Linked DNA regions of Homo sapiens: region 2 is linked to region 1. The links are contacts of gene promoters, found by promoter capture Hi-C in human tissues and cell types (Jung and others, 2019). All regions are on one chromosome and are shown on one strand. The core of a region is centred on a gene start or on the middle of the fragment in contact, and the rest is flanking DNA. Distances in the headings are between cores, read along the strand shown.

Region 1 (3,173 bases), core at 187-2,686:
TACCATGCCAATTTTAATATGAAATTGTGTAACTGCCCAATGATTTATCTAACCAGCTTTTAAAAGTTGTTTTCAATTTTCCTTTGCTGAAAAGAACATAGTGGGACTAGAATTGGAAGTGGGGTGAAGATGGGGGGTAGGTGAACAGAGAAATGAGGAGCCCTTAAATTAGTCATGCTATCTTACCATCTGATTTTTTTTTCCATTTTCTGTGTTGAAAAATTATACTTCCCAGAACATGATTGTGAGCACCTGCTTGGCATTCAGTTGCAAGGATTTGCCCTAATTAATGTAACTGGTTTCCTATTATTGGACATTGAAGTTGTTTCTAATTTTTGACCATTACAAACCAGACTGTGATGAACATCCAAGAAGCTAAATCTGTGCTGGGGCTGGACACTGAGGTCAGGAGGAATATTTTCGAGACCTCTGAAGCATAAGGTCCCTGCCAGTAGTTGTAACTAGAAGCTTTCTGGCAAAGGCCCAGAAGGCTGGCTAAGGCCGAGGACTGTGCTCAGGCCTCTGGGCTTGCCCGGGTTCAGTACCCATTTATGTAGCCCCTGTCAGAGAGTGTTCAGGCTGGCATGGTCCTATGAGACCACTGGGCCAGCACCCTCATCTCTTACATGAGGGAACTGAGGCCTGGGGCTGGGGCTGGTCCTTCGGCAGCTCTGTAGTCGGGCAGAACTTTGCCTCTCCCCAGCACCCTGGCTTCTGAACTGGAAGCTAAGCTCTGAGGTTTGGAATCTCACCCAGAGGCCCTGTGAAATCCTGCCTGCTCTCCTTCACTGGACCACTTACTGCTGAGGCTGGAGGGGGCACTTTGACAAATGAACTGATCAGTAAGGGGCTGAGGGGCATTGAAAGAAGACTTAAGGTTTACCCAACAAGCATCTGGGCCTGCTCTGCCCAGAATGCCCCTTTTTTCCCTAACCCAGATGATATGCTTAATGGCAGTCACCCTACATTCAGGTCCACCTGGCAAATCTATCTGAGGTTGAGCTGAAATAACAAGTGAGTCCCTCACTCTCCTTAAAGGGGTCAGCTGTCTCTTCTTGCCAGGAACTGGCTTAGTTAAAGGCCTGTCTATTCAGCCCTCTGTCCCTGACATCTCTGTGGTTTCAGAGTGCTAATGAGCTCCTCTCCTTCCCCTCTCAGGCCTTGCTACTCCCTGGGGAATTCACACAAATGGTGTGCGATTTGCCCCTTCTGTGTTTTTCTTTCTGACTTGGAGGCAAAGCAAATCCCTCACCTCCCACTGACACCATGTTTATTCAACTGGGAGAGATTTCACACCCAGGTAACCCAGCTTTCCCTCCCTGAGCCCCTTCCCTAAATCTTTATCCCCCTCCCAAGTCATCCCACCCCTGTCCTCCCTGAATAATTTATAAGACCAGGCAGGGCTTATAAAAGGGTCTCCCAGGAAAAGCCAAAAGAGTGCAGAAGGTTCTGGGAAGTAGGAGACCCCACTGGCTTTGGTCCCCTAAGAATGGACTCTGCTGCCTGTGCTGCTGCTGCCACCCCTGTTCCAGCCCTGGCTTTGGCCCTAGCTCCAGACCTAGCACAAGCCCCACTGGCACTCCCTGGCCTGTTAAGCCCATCTTGCCTTCTCTCCTCTGGACAAGAAGTAAATGGGAGTGAAAGGTAAGTTGAGCTTAGCCTTTGGCAACCTGAACTTAGGCTTGAGAGCTTCCTGAGAGAGGAAGGAAAATGAGATGTCCAGGGCACCCTGTTCTCTGTGAAGGGGAAAAGCAATGGCCTCATAGCCCTCCCTCCTCAACTCTAGCTGGAATATCTCATCTGACTTTTCACCTCACTAATCCCGCTGGGTGGCAAGAGGGGACTTGGGGACAGCTGTTGCCAAAGCTGAAGGTGAAGCAGCCAGGTCCTCATAGGCCAGGTGGCTGAGTCCCCTGAGGGGGATGGGGAACTGCCATGAAACCTGGGCTTAACACAATCTAGACTGTGGGGGTGGGGAGTTTGGGGAAAGAGGACCAAAGTCTAAAGAGGCCCTTGACTGGGACATTGTCTTTTTCCTGACCACGCCATAAGATTTCCATTTGCTTTTTTCCTACCTCTGCAAGTCCAGTGGGGAAGCAGTGGACCCAGGAACATTTCTGGCCCTCTTCTTCAGCCCAGGAAGATGGTAGAGCTCTGAGTTCTACATCTTGGAGCAGGAAGTAGGAGGCAAGATATTTTCCATCTAGCCCCCACTCATTACTCCAAACATTTAGTCTTCAACAAACATTTACTGAAACAGCTACTGTGTACCAGACATTGTACTAGGTGTTGAGGATTCAGATACGATTGAGCATATCTTTGAGCTTAAGAAGCCCAAAGACAAGTAAATAGACAATTACAAAACAGCATGATAAAAGCAATAATAACATTGCTGAAGCCGAGAGGAGGGACATCTGTCCTGGAATGGGCTCAGGAGCCTTAGGAAAGGCTTCCTGGAGCAGATGGCACCTGAGCCAAGCTTTTGGGAGGTCTCTTGTTATCTCAGGGAGCCCACCTTTCAGTCTCTTCCTCTACGGATTGATCTCTCCTCTTTGTCCCAGAGGAACTTGTCTCTGGAGGCCCTGGCTGTCTTCCACAAATGACTCCCCAAGGCAGATGAGGAAGCTGGTGGATTTGGTGAGTTCGAGCCCTTGTGACGTGTGTTCACATGCAGCCACATGCATTAACAGTGACCAGGTCACTTCCCAGAGAGCCCCTGACCTCAGTCCAAAGGTGCAGATCTGAGATAGCATCCTCACAGTTTTGCCAACATTTGATTCCAACAGAGAGCAGATCCAAGCTTTCTGTGGCAATTGGAAAGATGAGGAGACCAAAGCTCAGAGTGGGCAAGGGATCTGGGCAGGCCCCACAGCCAGTGTGTGGCAGTGCTGGTGCTTGAGGCCTCGTCTCCTGGCACCTTACTCCAGTGCTCTCCCACCCACCCGATCTCCCTGAATCTTTGCTGCTCCAGTAGAACACTGTCCCCTGGAGAGCCTCCAAACAGGTGCTGGAACAGAGGCAGGGAAGCAAACAACCCGCAGGACTCTGTCTGCTTGTTTTTCAACCAGAACCAAGAGAGACCCCTTGTTGAGGGGTGGGTATTGGGGGTTGCTGGGTCCCAGAGATGTCTAAGGTCTCTTCAAGATCATTTTACCTGCAGCTTTCTGACCTCT
Region 2 (3,173 bases), core at 283-2,782, 49 kb before region 1:
GGTTTGTTTTTCTCTGTGTTTCTGAGTTCAAGACCAGCCTGGACAACACAGCGAAATCTCATCTCTTAAAAAAAAAACAAAAAACCAATAGAACGGTGCCTTGGAATATAGTAGGTACTCAATAAGTAATGGTTGAATCTGAGTCATATTTAAGAAGCAATTTCTAAGATTGAATTTTGTAGCAACGGGATAAGAAATAGAATCCAGCCTTAGTCTCAGGAGCTTGAGCCTAATTACACCGTTTCCATGCATACTTTTCCAACTCCCATTTTAGGTTGGGAGGGGTGCACTGTAAATGCTAAGTGTTTTTGAAGCACATTGTTACCTTTTTACCCTGGTCTCCTGGAGATGCTCATATATCACCATTGCTGCTGGAGTGTCAGGTGTCTTTGCTTTTGAAGACTGTCCCTTCCTTACTATGACCACTTTTCCTTTTTTTCCAGTGTTTCTTTTATAACCCTGTAGTGGTTTTTGGTAACCTCAAGGGGATTACAAATGCTAATTTATATACTTATTTTATGAATGCAGTACAATAGAACTTCCATTGGGTGGCATACTTCATCAGTCTCTATTGGAATTTTTGTATGAGTCTTTATGGATTGCTATATCGAGAGTGAGGTTTTGGCTGTAGAGGACAGGTAAAGTACATTGACCATTCATATGTAATTTTAATTTATTGAGAATAAAATTATTTCAAGAGAAAGAGAAACATAAGAGGTATGTGATAGTTGCTGTTGCTAATGTCATATATGTTACATAAGATCAGTAAATGATGATTGTGTCATTTCAAGTTACACTTTTCGAGGGAATCACATTGATTGGGCTGAGACTACCTTTTAATGGGGGAAAATGGAGTTACTCAAGAGTCTAGTAAAATATATAGGATTTCTGATAAAACATTAAGGTTTAATCAAGAGTTACAAAGGTCTTCTGTTATTATCAGCATAGGAAGCTGATAAGGGTCCTTGGGTCATGTAGTTCAGCTTACTAACTCCAGATAAAATAAAGCCTACAGTATCCAAGAAAACTTTTAAGTTCTAGTGGGTAGTTTAGCAGGGGCGCCACAGGTGTCACTGGAAACAGCTTTGTGAGTCCCACAAATCTAGCAAGGGGAGGAGAGGACCTGCAATAAAGAATAGGTTCCACCAGTATGTAAGCAGGTATAACCTTTTTGGGGAAGACAGCTTATTTCTGTTAAAGGAAATAATCCCTTTCTATTTGTTCATCCTACATGTATAATCGTGCCGCATAATGACATCTTGGTCAATAACAGAACACATACACAACAGTTATCCCATAAACTTACAATACTGTATTTTTACTGTACCTTTTGTATATTTAGATATATTTGATATGCAAATACTTACCATTTTGTTACAGTTGCCTATAGTATTCACTACAGTCACATGCTGTACAGGTTTATAGCCTAGGAGCAATAGGCTATTGCCTAGGTGTATAGTAGGCTATACCATCTGGGTTTGTGTAAGGATACTCTATGATGTTTGCACGATGAGGAAATTGTCTAACAATGGATTTCTCAGAGCGTATGCCCATCATTAAGTAATGCACGACTGTATTTGAGTGCCTACTTTATGAAAGGCCCTGTTCTAGGGTAGTGACAAGATCAAAGATGAAGGAGGTTTGAGTAGTCAAAATTTGATATGTAAGTATCCCCAATATTTACATATAAAGTGCATATAGTTTTCTTTCCTTTTTTTTTTTTTTTTTTTTTTTTTTTTTTGCGGCAGAGTCTCGCTCTGTCACCCAGGCTGGAGTGCAGTGGCGCAATCTCGGCTCACTGCAACCTCCACCTCCCGAGTTCAAGCGATTATCCTGCCTCAGCCTCCTGAGTAGCTGGGATTACAGGCGCGTGCCACCACGCCCGGCTAATTTTTGTATTTTTAGTAGAGACAGGGTTTCACCATGTTGGTCAGGCTGGTTTCAAACTCCTGACCTCGTGATCCACCCGCCTTGGCCTCCCAAAGTGCTGGGATTACAGGTGTGAGCCACTGCGCCTGGCTAAATATGTATAGTTCTCTTATGAGTGATACAAAATAAGATTTAAAGTGGCCGGGTGCAGTACCTCACGCCTCTTATACCAGCACTTGGGAGGCTGAGACAGGAGGGTTGCTTGAGCCCAGGAGTTCGAGACTAGCCTGGGCAACACAGTGAGACCTCTTCTCTACAAATAATAAAAAATTAGCCAGGTGTGGTGACGTGCGCCTGTGGTCCCAGCTACTCTGGAGGCTGAGGTGGGAGGATCGCTTGAGCATAGGCTGCAGTGAGCCAGCTGTGATTGCGCAACTGTGCTCTAGTCTGGGCAACAGAGCAAGACCCTGTCTCAAAAAAAAAGAAAGATCTAAAGTAACCGTAAGCATTTGAATGAAGGCAAGAATTAGTGGCTGTAATTTATTTAGATATTTAGATTTGAGTAAGCTATATGTCAAAGGCTAATTAGTTCATATTTTTAAAGGTTAACAAATTCTGAATTGCACTGTTAACAGTGGAGGGAGAGAAGTAGAGACATTCTACTGTGTCTAAAGGAATACTTGAAATAACAAACAAGGGGTAGAAATAGATGAACAATTTTGCAAATGAATAAGATTGATTCAGGGGCCAGTATTAACATTTAAAAATATGATCTAGGGAAGCAACTTCCAGAATGGAGAAATGAGGAGCATAGTGGACTCTGTCACCAATAAATAACTGTTTAACTTGAAAAAATATATTTAAAAAAAATCAGTGTTTCTGGATAGTGTCCTAGGGGCACACAGCAAAGGGAGAAATATTCAAGAAATCTTCTAAATCTCAGGAAGAACAGCAAGAGTCAGTGGCATTTGAACCACAAGCTGTCCCACTCCAAGCTCTATTTTATGAAAACTACTCAAAGGAATTCTAATCCATGTGGGTGTGGTCTAGAAGATGGGGGCTCCCTCATCCCCTAGCTCATTGTCTAGAGCTATGGTTTTACCTGGGAGGAGCAGGCCTCTGGCTTTTCTCATCTCCTCTCCAGTTCTGTTTTGTAGAAGCTCTATTCCAGGCAGATCCACGAAGACTGGGTCTCTCTTCTCCCAGCCTTCTCTTCCCCAACAAAGCCCTCACTTATAGGGTGGGAGCACTCACAAAGGAACAGCAAGTTAGTAATACCATGCCCCTATTGTTCCTACCCGAGC

The links. The method cuts DNA at HindIII sites, captures the fragments that hold promoters and counts their contacts. A contact is called where the count stands out against the background at its distance.
Region 2: a contact is called between a fragment that was not itself captured here and the fragment with the promoter of RIPPLY1 in region 1, in 1 of the 25 tissues and cell types used here (adrenal gland).

Annotation. Positions count from the first base shown.
Region 1 is chrX:106,901,604-106,904,776 of GRCh38, reverse strand. It overlaps RIPPLY1 (ripply transcriptional repressor 1), which reads left to right and starts at 1,436. Exons shown (of 4, transcript NM_138382.3): 1 at 1,436-1,644; 2 at 2,562-2,637. The coding sequence starts at 1,490. It also overlaps a transcript of CLDN2 not described here. The HindIII fragment of the contact is 3,191 bases long and covers 1-2,640 here.
Region 2 is chrX:106,950,564-106,953,736 of GRCh38, reverse strand. The region is part of intron 14 of MORC4 (MORC family CW-type zinc finger 4); the gene reads left to right. Among named protein-coding and RNA genes, the nearest start is that of CLDN2, 32 kb to the right of the region's middle. The HindIII fragment of the contact is 4,923 bases long and covers 1-3,173 here.